Regions from separate parts of the Homo sapiens genome. Here region 2 is linked to region 1. The links are contacts of gene promoters, found by promoter capture Hi-C in blood cells and fetal thymus (Javierre and others, 2016). All regions are on one chromosome and are shown on one strand. The core of a region is centred on a gene start or on the middle of the fragment in contact, and the rest is flanking DNA. Distances in the headings are between cores, read along the strand shown.

Region 1 (6,396 bases), core at 2,914-5,413:
AAAGGATGATAAGGCCCCTCAAAAAGGAAACTCAATGTCTTCAGATCTGTCTACATCCTTGATCTCCAAAGTTTAGGTATGGAGGAAATAGATTAAAGGTGAACTTCTTATTTTGCTATTTGCTATTTGGCCTTGGCCCTAATGGTCAGGCCATGGCTGTTTCCTCCTGTGGCATGGCGGACTGCGTAATTTAAGCACCAATCACATGCACACATCTACATGCATTTTGGTATAACTCACCACCATCTAACAAGAGATCCAACTTTAAATAAGGGGAAAATGAAATCTGTACCTGTCGGGTGCTTTCTGTTTGCAGGTAACTAGTAATCAACCTGTCATTGAATCCTGACATCCCATTCATACTGGGTACATATATTACTTAGCTATTGTATAACAAACCATGCAAGACTTCCTAGCTCATGATGGAGTTGCTCAGCCATTTGGGCAGGGCTCAACTGGGCCATTCTTGTGGGCTCAGGTGGGCTCCTTCAGGCATATGTGATCAGCTGCTGTTGACTAGGCGGCTCTGCTTCTGAGTGTGAGTTGGCTGTCAACTGGAGCAGTTTGGCTCTCCTCCCCATGGTATCTCATTCTCCAGCAGGCTAACATGGGCTTGCAGTCATGGAGATGGTAGGGTTCTCCAGAAATGGGACATTTCAGCAAATTTTGACTGTCCTCAAGATCCTTAGGGGAGTCTTTTTCCTTTCAGCTCCAGAACCCTCTCACTGGGTCCTGACTCTGGGCTCCCTTTCTTACCTCCAGGTGAGCAGGAGACCTGGATCCTGGTCCCCAGAAAAAACGGAGGCCCCAGGGCTTCCATGGAGGAGGGTCAGATTTTTATTTTTACTTGTCTGCATTCTAACTATGAATTCTCCCTTATATGCATAATTAAAAAGGGATTCAAGAATTTATTATATAACTCTTAGACCCCTCAGACAAATAAAATTTCTACAAATGTATTAGCAAGAGGAGAAGATTCATAAACAGATTTATTTAATGAGAACTGTTGCTGACCTGTGGAATTCCATCCTTAACTCCAAAGAGTGGTGTATTTGTGGGTGAGGTGGAGGGGTGGGTGGGTTGGAGTGGGGTGTTACCTTCTAACCCTTAGCCTAGTAAGGGAGGCCTCAAGGGAGCTACTTGGAGAATTTGAAATATGGCCCCTGAAATTGAGGACACAGAGGGCTAGTGTCTGACCCAGTAGAGAGAACTACAGTGGACTGTAGCATCAGGGGCTGACTTTCTTGGGTATAATCAAAAAGGGCTGATTCCTTTGATTGTAGAACTAGGAGAATGGAGCTACATTGGGATTGGCCTGTGCTCCCAAAGTTGTTGGTGCAAGGTATGTATCATCATTCCTACAGAGGGGATTTAGACTATTTGGGGAAAGGGGAAGAACTGGCTTGGGGTTGTCTTAGGCCTCTCCTCCAACTTAAATGAGCTTCTAGAAGAAGATTACAAGACCTCAGCAGGAAAAGGAATAATTAAGTATACCTCAGTATGCTCTGGGGCTTGTGGAGGAGATATAAGTGACTACCTGTCAGTGGCTCAAGTCCCTGCAAGTTTGTGTCTTTCCACAGTCAGACTTTTGTTGATGCTATTTCAATCATAAAAGCCATGAGCTGTATGAAGGTCCGAAGGAGGTAATTTTCCTTAGTAGTACCCATTCATTTGGTAGTCAGAACCAAGGACACAAAGCTCTAGCCACTCCACAAGTCAGTCAATATTGCAAACCAAACATAGTAGTATACATAACATATAAATATTATAGGCTAAACATTCTAAAAGAAAATAACATTTAACATCAAGAGAAAGGTTAGGAAAACAGGATTAACCAATCCAAGGAGAGCAACATGGACAAGGAGAGTGTCCTCGGCTGATCAGGATGCATATCAACATTTTGCAAGGAAGAGTCTTTGATTTGAGCAGAACCTTTGGTGGCAGATGCTAGATGCTGATCATGAGTGACAGTAAGACAGTGTCTGTTAAGATGGCTATCTTGAGCTGTTGAAGTTCTACTCTTTTTATAGCCTCAGAGTCCTCTGGTGTTGACTGATAGTAAAGAGTGTGCCTGCAATAGCAAATACTTGGAACCAACTGAAATGTCCATCAGTGATAGACTGGATTAAGAAAATGTGGCACATATACACCATGGAATACTATGCAGCCATAAAAAAGGATGAGTTCATGTTCTTTGTAGGGACATGGATGAAGCTGGAAAACATCATTCTCAGCAAACTATTGCAAGGACAGAAAACCAAACACCACATGTTCTCACTCATAGGTGGGAATTGAACAATGAGAACACTTGGACACAGGAAGGGGAACATCACACACTGGGCCCTGTTGTAGGGTGGGGGAAAGTGGGGAGGGATAGCATTAGGAGATATACCTGATGTAAGACTAGTTAATGGGTGCAGCACCTCAACATGGCACATGTATGCATATGTAACAAATCTGCACGTTGTGCACATGTACCCTAGAACTTAAAGTATAATAATAATAATAATAATAATAATAATAATAATAAAAGAGTGTGCCTGGTTATGTCGTTATCTGGTTGGGTGCAGTCTCTATTGATTAGGTGAACATCTGGTCCCTTTTGGCATGATTCCTTTTGAAATGTAAACAGAATCTTTTTCTAAGAAGTAGTTACTTATGTCAAGGGTGCTCTATACAATCTGGAATAGAGATATCAACCTGGAAGCGATACCTCTCTTCACTTTAAGGAAGCTATGACAGAGGTCTCCAGGGATATGAATTATTAGGAAGAAAGAGTGAAATTCAAACATTTGCAGGTCTAGAGGGCTTAAAGCCAGCTTATGATGGTACCAGTTCAAGTTAAAACTGTATTCTCCCCTATTCCCTTCTTATTCTGTCCAGGCAGGAAGGACCATCCTATTTTTTCCCTCAGGCTTCCAGCCGGAAGTAGATTATAGGTAGAGCATAACTCATCACCACATAATACATTGGAAAAAGATGATGGTATTTTTTCTCAGAGTTGTTTCTTGACTACATCACAGTGGTGAAACATGCACTCACACCCCTGTGGACTCAGGTAAGCCATCCCAAGAGTTTCCTCCCTGTGGACTCAGGTAAGCCATCCCAAGAGTTTCCTCCTTCTTCTTCATTGTGGGCCTATGGCAGTGTGTTTTGTTTGCTGATGCATATACCTTTACATACAAAGCTATCATGGAAATTCACAGGCATGCATACATCTGAATAGAAAGGCTATAACATCATGTGATAAGTTCATGTCCAGCCAACCAGTTATCCCGGCTGGGCACCAGTGCCAGTAAATTAGAGTGATTTGGGCAGCTAGTCAACTTTTATTCAGAGTCAGCTGTCTCATGCGTCCGTGTGAAGAGACCACCAAACAGGCTTTGTGTGAGCAACATGGCTGTTTATTTCACATGGGTGCAGGCGGGCTGAGTCCGAAAAGAGAGTCGGCAAAGGGTGGTGGGATTATCATTGGTTCTTACAGTTTTTCGGATAGGAGGTGGAGTGAAGAGCAATGTTTTGGGGGTAGGGGGTAGATCTCACAAAGTACATTCTCAAGGGTGGGGAGAATTACAAAGAAACTTCTTAAGGGTGGGGGAGATTATAAAGAACATTGATCAGTTAGGGTGGGGCAGAAACAAATCACAATGGTGGAATGTCATCAGCTAAGCTATTTTCACTTCTGTGGATCTTCAGTTGCTTCAGGCCAGCTGGATGTATACGTGAAGGTCACTGGGGATATGATGGCTTAGCTTGGGCTCAGAGGCCTGACATCAGCCATTCTTGCAACCTGGTAAGGAGTTCTGCTAATCACACACATTCCACCTTGTACACGAGGGCCAAACTTCCTTTTGGTGAAGAAGTATAAACCTCTAAAATTGACTTGGATCTCCAGGTCCACCTAGCCCATTCTTTGTGGAGTTCCCTTGCTGTTCTAGTCTATCAACTTAGGCTGAGTCAAATATCTCAATAGGTTGCCCAGCTATGAGCCAACACCCTGCTCTGCAGCCCTCCCACATCTCAGCTTGCAGGGAAGCCAGCGAGGGCAGCGTGGTGATGTCACTGCGTCCGCACGCGCCCCGCCCCTGAGCAGTCCTTGCTGCCCCGCCCCCGCTCGGCTCGCCGCCAGGGGACGCTAGTGGGTCCAGTCTCCTTGGCAACCACTTGCTCCTCCCCCTCCGCCCCTTTAACCTTTAGGGTGCGCGGGTGCAGTATATCTCGCGCTCTCTCCCCTTTCCCCCTCCCCTTTCCCCACCCCGGGCGCTCAGGTTGGTCTGGACCGGAAGCGAAGATGGCGACTTCTGGCGCGGCCTCGGCGGAGCTGGTGATCGGCTGGTGCATATTCGGCCTCTTACTACTGGTAGGGGAGGCGCTTGGAGTTTTCCCCATGTTTGGACTGGGGGAGGAAGGGAGGGGCAGGCCCTGCAGTTGGCCTCTCCGGGCCCCGGAGACCCTCTTCGCCCCGCCCCGCTTTTAGCTTGGACTGTGGAGGGCTCCTTAGTGTTGGGGGCTTGGGCGGGCGGCGGGGGCAGGGGGGTGTCGATTTCCGGTCTCTTTTGCTGTCATTTCACCGATGACGTCTAGGGTTGCAGGGTCCTTTTTGGAAGCTCTTGCCGTCATCGCTGACTTGGGCAATGGGGCCGGTGGGGTTTGGGGGCGGAAGAGACCCTCGGGGTTGAGAAGTATGTGGTGGCCTTTCGTCCCCTGTAAAACATTGTCACACGGTGTGGGGCGGCAGCGCTGGATCTTTGCAAGTTAAGTAGGCGCTGGCGTTGTTTACTTGTCACCTTCTCTGTATGTTTTTTCCCTCATTTTCCCTACCCTTGGGGCTAGTGAGTCTCCAACCTCTGTGCCCATTGTGTGATTCTGCCTTGATGACGTGAGTTGCTCGTTCTGACTTCCAGGTGTCACATTCTCTTCTAATCTTTTTTTGATTGGTGTAGATACCTGTGGAGGGCGGAGCTGTAGCCCTCTTTATTACCAGTATCGGAGTATATACTACTACCTGTCTGACCTCAGGTGCTTTCTTTTCCAACGATCTTATTTCTGCATATTCAGTGAGCAAAGTGTAGATAGAAATGTCTCAGAGTGGCCTGGCTATTACTTCCCTGTTCATATTAAAACCCTTTGGTTTATTTGGGAGTTCAATTTATTTCCTTTCATAACTTCTCTACCTTCTCAAATCTTCTCTTTTCTCATCGTCCGAGGCTGTAGTTACTTTCTGTTCTCACGTATTTTGACCTTTTTGCATTGCAAAACAAAAACCTCCAGTTCTGGAAATCAGGCTTGTTTGGTTTTACTTTAATTGTCAGATCCAGTTGGTGTCTGGTACCTATGTAGTATGTTCTAGTAGATTTTTGCAGTAGAGACTAAAAAAAGAAAATAAAAGAAAAGAATGGTGTGAAAATTTAAGAAAAGGATCCTCTTGTTACTGCCATCACTGTCACAGATAAAAACACTGCCTTTACCCTGGAACATGTTAGTCCTCTCTTGGAGGAAATGAAACCCTAAAGGTTGACTGTGGTCTCTGCAGCCACCCAGTCCTGTATTTGGAGAGCCCCCTGGCTTTTCCAGTCCATCAGATTTAGTTTGTTTAGAAAAAAATAAATAAGCATGTAATGTATGAAAGTTACGTGAGACTATCTTGGCAGTTATAAATTAATAAACATTTACGGTACAGAAGTGGTGTGAATTGTAAGAGGATGTAAACCAAACAAAATACGGCTTTAAAGAGGGCCTGAAGATAAGTGAGAAAACTGAAATTCTTGAAACATGTATTTTATGGACCGAAAGCCAAAGTGTGACTATAAATAAAGCAGGACTTAAGAGAATAGACAACAATATTGGAAGAAAATGAGAATTGTGGTAGAGTTTGGATAGATGAAGAAGAGAGGCCATTTAAGTTGGCAATATTACAGCAAGGACAAATAAAATCAGAATTGAATGTTGTCGTGGATAAAAGCATTAGGAAGAAGGACTTTTGTTTAAATTTCTGCAAATCTCTTTAAATCCTGGTTTATTAGAAGAAAGGCTGGTTTCTTTTGTTGCCTTCTACATTCAGTCTTTTGGGGTATGTTATTTTAGTCGAAGTGTATGGAGAAAATACAGCTGCAATGATAGGTAGTCAGAAACAGAGGAGCGTTTTTCAGATAATTGTGGATGTTTTTTGACACTACACCAAAGCTCAACAAGTGGAAGATTCATGTCAGCTGCAAGGTGGAATCTGAAACCCTATCAATGAGCATTTCATTCATTGTTACATTAAAATCCATTAGCCCATCTTGCACTTTGAAAGGCTCTTTTACCCATGCATGGTTTTATAACATGATGCCATGGCCACTTAGAAAATGTTGGTTTACTGAGTTATGCACATCTTTTAAATATGGATACGTTTCA
Region 2 (6,322 bases), core at 3,545-6,044, 1.5 Mb before region 1:
AAGAAATGTGGCATAAGGAGGAGGGAGAGAAGCAACATTTGGCTGTGGGCAATAGGAAGGTTTCAGGGAGAAACAGGTCTGAAGCTGAATAGCTGTGTTTCTACCTAGAATTTTGTTCCTTTTTGTTGTTGTTTTGTTTTGTTTTAGAATGTGGTACAGGAATGTAATGCATTTCAGACTAGCTTTTTAATCCAAATTCCTGGGCCCATCTCATCTGCTAGTTGTTCCTGCGTTTCATAGAGAACTCTGACCAAGGGAAAATAACTGTGCTGGCCCCTGATTTATCACAGGGGCTTTACTTACTCATTCAGATGCTGAAATCTTTCCTGCCAGTTAACAGCCCGAGCAACATTTCCAGTTTTATCAGTCAGTTTTATTCCAAAAAATTCTAGCATCATTTTATAAGCCAGGAGGAATCTTCTAATTGCTTCTTTTGTTTTTTTGAATTCCTAATATAAAAAATGAAAAAAGTCACCTGAAATGATTCAGTAGCTACAAGGACAGTGAAATAGCAATATTATTTGGCCACCCTGTATAAAATGAAATGAGCTTGCATTACCTCAATTTCATATGTAGTTAGTTCTTTGGCATAGAAGTTCAAGCCTTGTTCTCTCAGGGGGAAAAGCCTATTTATTTTAAAAAAATAAAATTTTTCTATTAACGTTGTCTGGAAAACATACATGATTAAATAGGACATGGTTCAAGATAGATAATATGTAACTGACCATTGAATGTAAGTGTGGTTGTGCTCCAGTTTTTCATAATCTCCTTTCCATTTACTTAGAACTTCTTCAATGTAAACACCTAAATAGTAAATATTTAAAAATGAACCAGACATTTCAAACATTGTGAAGGCATTTTAAGATTCGAATCACTTGAGTTTTATATGAAAACTTGTTTAAATTTAATAATAGCACACAAGAATAGTGCTTTTAAAAAGATGAATACCCTATGCCCATATATTCGGTTATGTGATAAATCTAATTAAAAAAAATTAATAGCACCTCAAATTGCACAAGGCTTTGTTGGACAATGTACTCTAAAGCAGAGCTTGGCAAACTGTGGCCTGCCAGCTGTTTTTTAAATAAAGTTTTATTGGAATATAGCTATGCACATTCATTTATGTACTGTCTATGGCAGTTTTTGTACTACAGTAGCAGAGCTGTGTAGTTGCAATACAGACCCACTGTCCCCCAAAGCCCAAAATATTTACTATTTGCCCCTGTATAGAAAGTTTGCCAATCCCAGTCCTAGGAGTTATATAGTTCTTTAAATGCTAAATTGGATCAAAATGAATTGCATCCTAGGGAAAAAGAAAGAAAGGGGAGTAGAAATAGAAGAAAAGAAATGAGAAGGAGAAAACAAAGGAGAAGGAAAACGAGAAAAGAAAAATGTAGGAAAAAGTTGTAAGTGCTTACTACATGCTGTGCCCATATTACACAGAGCGCACATTTTCCAGCTTAGTCTTCACAGAATGCTGCCAGTGTTATGATCCTCATTTTAACAATGAAGAAACTGGGAGATTTGTTCAAAGTTACACACTAGTAAAAAAGTAAATCTTGAGTGCAACATAGGTCTTTCTGGTTCCAAGAAGTAAGCCCTTTTCACCCTGTCCACTTTTCCTCTACAAGAACTTACAAAAACAAAATCCTCCTGTTCCTAAGTCTGTCAAGGTCCTTACAATTGACTAGCCATTTAGTCAATGTTGTAGAAAATAAAATAGCAATATAATATTTCTCCGAACATAACTCATCTCATTCTTGTTTCCTCCAGAGATCACCAGTTTGTAGTAGAGGCCCACTCTCGGAAGGTTTGGTAAAAAGTTGTTTTGAATCATAATGTTGGCTTTATTGGCATGTTGAAACCATTTACCTCTGTAATTTTCCATTTGTTTTCCTTTCCAACTACCACTCCTCCTGCCTGATAAATAAATACCATTGCAAGATTATGCTTACTGGCAAGTAGTGTGTGTGTGCGTGTGTGCGTGTGTGTGTATACTAGGGAGGAAAGTGAGTTGATATAATTTGTATAATAAACTAGGATAAACATTTTATCTGACCTTAGCTAAAACTTCTGACCCCCACCAATCATAAGATTTCAAAATAAACTTTGTAGTAAAGATTACCAAAAATTCAATATATTGCTTGAAATTACTTTTTAAATTAATATTTACAAAATAAATTCCCTAGTAGAAAAAAATAGAGTTAAATACTATCATAGCTTTATGTTTAATATTTTTAATATGTGAAGGCATTCCTTTAGGAAAATTGTATGAAATTCAAATCAGACTCAAATTAACAATCTATCATTGCATTTCTTCAAAATATTTTTCTACCCCAAGTCCTAACAAAATGAATAATTTGGCCAATATTTTTCCATTAGTAAATAAAGCAGCACATTTCTATCATTAGTAAATATAACTGTGCAATTTTATCCAGAGGTTTCATTCCACATCACAGCAGACTTTCAGGACACCAGAAAGTTAAAGACAAGTAGATCTGGCCACGTCAACGATGTTCTCAAATATTAACTCCCAACTGGTAGGTCTGTTGGTACACAGTACTGGGACTCCCTCCTCCCAAACTCAATCCAGGCTTTAGACCTCTTGCCTCGAGTTAGTTCACCAAAGAATGCAAGGTCCTGCCACTTGAAAGCCTTGCAGTCTATCTCCTTCCTTCTGTGACTCACACTGCTGTGGAACTGGCTCAGTTTCCACTGAGAGCAAATAGCAGAAGCCAGGGCAGTCTGACCACCTCACACAGAAAAGGGCTCTTGGGAGAGAAGCCAGCTTTCCTAGGGTGACCTGGATAAAATTAGGATGACCACCATGAACCACAGCATGATGCCTCAATGAAATATGCAATGTTGTGGTCATATTACCATAGCAGCTGCATCTTCTCACTATGGGTTTGGAAAATATCCTAGGAGGGCAATTGCAGAGTTGGGAAGGAGACAAGTGTATTTGGCAGAGTTGGATGGAGATCTACTGTATCTGCAGTTCCCTTCCCAGAATATTGGAACTCCAAACAGGGATTGCTGTAGATTGCTGATACTGAATCTGAAAACTGACAGGAAAGATAATTCTAAATACAAACAGCACTTTTCAATCACATGCTAAATAGTTTTCAGCTATGGCACAATGGAAAGAACAGTGGACTCTAGAACCTGCAATCGAGTGACCTAAGCTTTAAGTCCTAGTGACCTAATCTTTGAGATGAGAAAGCTGAATTTGATCTTCTCTACTGTTCCTTAATAACCTAAAATTCTATGGTTCTATACATCTCCTCTCTCTTCCTGTCACAAAAATTGTCCCTACTATCTTTCAGATAATAGCAATGTAAATAAGAAAGATACCATTAATCCATAGCTCTTCCTCCAGAATTTACCAAGGGGACACATTAGACTGCATAGCAAAGTAAATCCAATCAATGAAACAAACCACAAAATAAAGAATAACCAAGTGTATGTGATTATTTAAAGTGCAATTTATCAAGTAGTACGTTACTCACCATCTGGCTTGAATGGAATTTTATTCTTATAAAAACGAAGATTGCTCAAGTCATTTTGATATCGGATATCTTTGAAGTTCTGCTAAAGGAAAAAATAAATCAATCTCCAGCACATAGAAATACAGTAAAGATACAAGGACCCTTCATGCATGTTTTCTCAGTGGCACCATAAAAATTTAAAAACAGAAGGAAAATAGTTTACAGTTTAAAACATAGCATTCTATACTCTTACTGGGTACTGGTGTCGGTACTTGTACAAATCCCTGGCAGCATAAAAACTTCTCTTTGGTTTGGCAGTTGCTTCAGTGGAATCACCACCCTGAAATAAAAGGTGAAACTCCGTTTACATGTTGACGCAAGATAATTTCACAAAGAAATTTCCAGAACAAACTTAAGGAAGATCCATAAAGAAAGCCTGAAAATTGTCAATCTGTCCAGATTAATGAAAATATTATAAATATTCCTTTAATAACGCTTACTAGCAATATTTCTTAGCATCCTATTTTTCTTATTTGAACCAATAACATTTGTCCTAAGATATATTACTGAATAAAACACTTTATTATTAACCAAAAACCTAAGAGGCCAATGTTATGGATCAATATCCATCAAAAATGGAACTCAAAAAGGAATTCAAGACATTTATTTACCAGATGATTATGCAAGTGATTCTATGATAAAACTTATTTTAGAATATTTTACATAATACTAAGAATGTGTTAAGTTACTAAATCAATTCTACAAAGAAAATTGTCATTAAATTTGCAACATTTAGCTGTACTTGGAAGTCAAGTAATATTTATGAAAAGAAAGGATTTTAAAACAAACTAGCTTTCTAAACTCCATCCTTTATAATACCATGACAAGTACACAAAGGCATGAATAATCATCTGTTCACTGAATGATAATACAATGTGATATAAACATTTAAAATATATACACACAAAGCAATAAAATGCTCTTAAATGGAATGGTGTCCAATTGAAACAACTTATACATGGTAGTTTACTCATACTGTTCAAACTCTTAAGTAAAATTCCTATCACCATGAACTGATTTTTAAAGTATAAGATGTGGGTTAAAATAATCGATTTGCATTCCCTATATGTACTATTATAATGTATGAGAAAGTGCTGATGACAATCATGAAAAAGAAAAACTTTAGACCTTTAAGAGTCATTAAAAGCTTTGCCCCAAATTCTTTTCTCCTCAACCCCTGTCCTCCATCTGTGTTGACAGATTGGCATCCTCTAAGTAATTTTCACACATTTTTGAAGTGGTGTGATTCTCACTATTACTACAAGTACCGAGTTACTTCAACATCAAATCTTCTGATGCTTAACATTAGTTACGCTGTCATGTTACATAAGCAAGGAAAAGCTTGAATTCTGGTCCTTGCCACACGTTTCAAAATAGCTCTGCCTAGCAAGTTTCTGAATCTATTTAGCCTGAGATACAACCATATGAATCATCATCCTACATTTGTATAGAAGGCACTCTCCATTTACAAAGCACTTACATATATAGCGAATAGACAACAAACAGGGTTGACAGTCAAAAGGCATTATTTCATTTGATTCTTAAAACACACCTGATTGACAGTTAATAAGTGTTTCCATCTTAGAAACAAGATATCAGGGGCTTAGAGAAGTTGCACACCACCCAGAGTCCAGTGACAGTGCAAGAACAAGAATCCCAGGCTCTGGGTCCCAAGTCCAGGTCTGAATCAATCTCAGTCACACTAAAAAATGAAGGATATATGGAAACCTTGGTGTAGTATCAGTAGCCCAAGACTTGGAGTCAGAAGACTAGCAATCTGAACGCTGCTTACTTGTATTTGTGAGGCCTTAAGCAAATCATTTAGCTGAATCTTAGTTTTATCATCTCTGAAATAAAGATAATGACTCAAGCCCTACCTATTTCTCAGGATTATCATAAGAATGTCTGTGTCCTGCCAGCATCTGCTCCTGCTCTTCCAACCCCTATTCCCTTTGGACTCTCTACCCAGACCCCTTTCACCTGCTCAGACAAGGATTCTGTTGTTCAATATTGTTCCTCTTTCCTGGATCATCAAAATTTCCCTCTCTTCTCGATCTCAAACAAACATGCTGTAGTATCTTTAATCTTAAAATAAACATACAAAACATTCCTTGACCCAGGCCTACCATCAATTACAGATCCATATATCTACTCCTTTTTTATAGCAAATCACCACCAAAGAATTGCCCATACTTTGTTTCCTTCTTTTCTTTCCCCATTTTCCCCTGACCCACCTCAATCAGGCTTTTGTCCTCAGCACTCCAACAAAATAGTTCTTGTGAACTTCACCAATAAGTCTCCATCTTGCCAAACCATTTCTTAATGTTCACCTCAGGTGACCTCCCAACAGAACTGGGCCAATTAAAGCATCCCTCCTTCCTGAAACACTGTCAGTATTTGGCTTACAGGCTACTATAACTTTCTTAGTTTACTTTCTGTCTCATTGGGCTCCCCTTGTCAGCCTCCTTTTTTGGCTCCTCCTCCTCTTCATACCCTCTAAATGGAGGGGTGCCTAAGGTCCTCAGTCGTCATCACTCCTTGATAACCCCTTATCTTCCCATGCCTTTAAATACCATTGATCTCAGATGCTGAGGACTCTAGTCCTGGACTGTCTCCATTCATAGATGTAATTTAACTACCCAACAAATGATTAACTACCCAACAACTCTACTTGGATGTGTAATAGGATATCAAACTCAAGAGAATCGTTGATTTAACCTCCATAGCTGCATTCTCCCTAGACTTCCCTGTCTTGGTTAATGTCACCATCATTT

What was found. Contacts are between HindIII fragments. The CHiCAGO score rates a contact against its expected background, and 5 or more counts as called.
Region 2: a fragment that was not itself captured here is called in contact with the fragment with the promoter of LMBRD1 in region 1 in 1 of 17 cell types (total CD8 T cells); the score reaches 5.1 in total CD8 T cells.

Annotation. Positions count from the first base shown.
Region 1 is chr6:69,794,777-69,801,172 of GRCh38, reverse strand. LMBRD1 (LMBR1 domain containing 1) reads left to right here and starts at 4,163. Exons shown (of 16, transcript NM_018368.4): 1 at 4,163-4,360. The coding sequence starts at 4,292. RefSeq lists enhancers at 4,242-4,471, 4,100-4,655, 4,782-4,831, 4,656-5,212. The HindIII fragment of the contact is 19,066 bases long and covers 1-6,396 here.
Region 2 is chr6:71,290,799-71,297,120 of GRCh38, reverse strand. OGFRL1 (opioid growth factor receptor like 1) reads right to left here. Exons shown (of 7, transcript NM_024576.5): 2 at 3,742-3,828; 3 at 3,510-3,588; 4 at 726-804; 5 at 560-626; 6 at 304-449. All of the region lies in intron 3 of LOC124901339 (a long non-coding RNA gene), which reads left to right. Among named protein-coding and RNA genes, the nearest start is that of OGFRL1, 5.1 kb to the right of the region's middle. The HindIII fragment of the contact is 194 bases long and covers 4,698-4,891 here.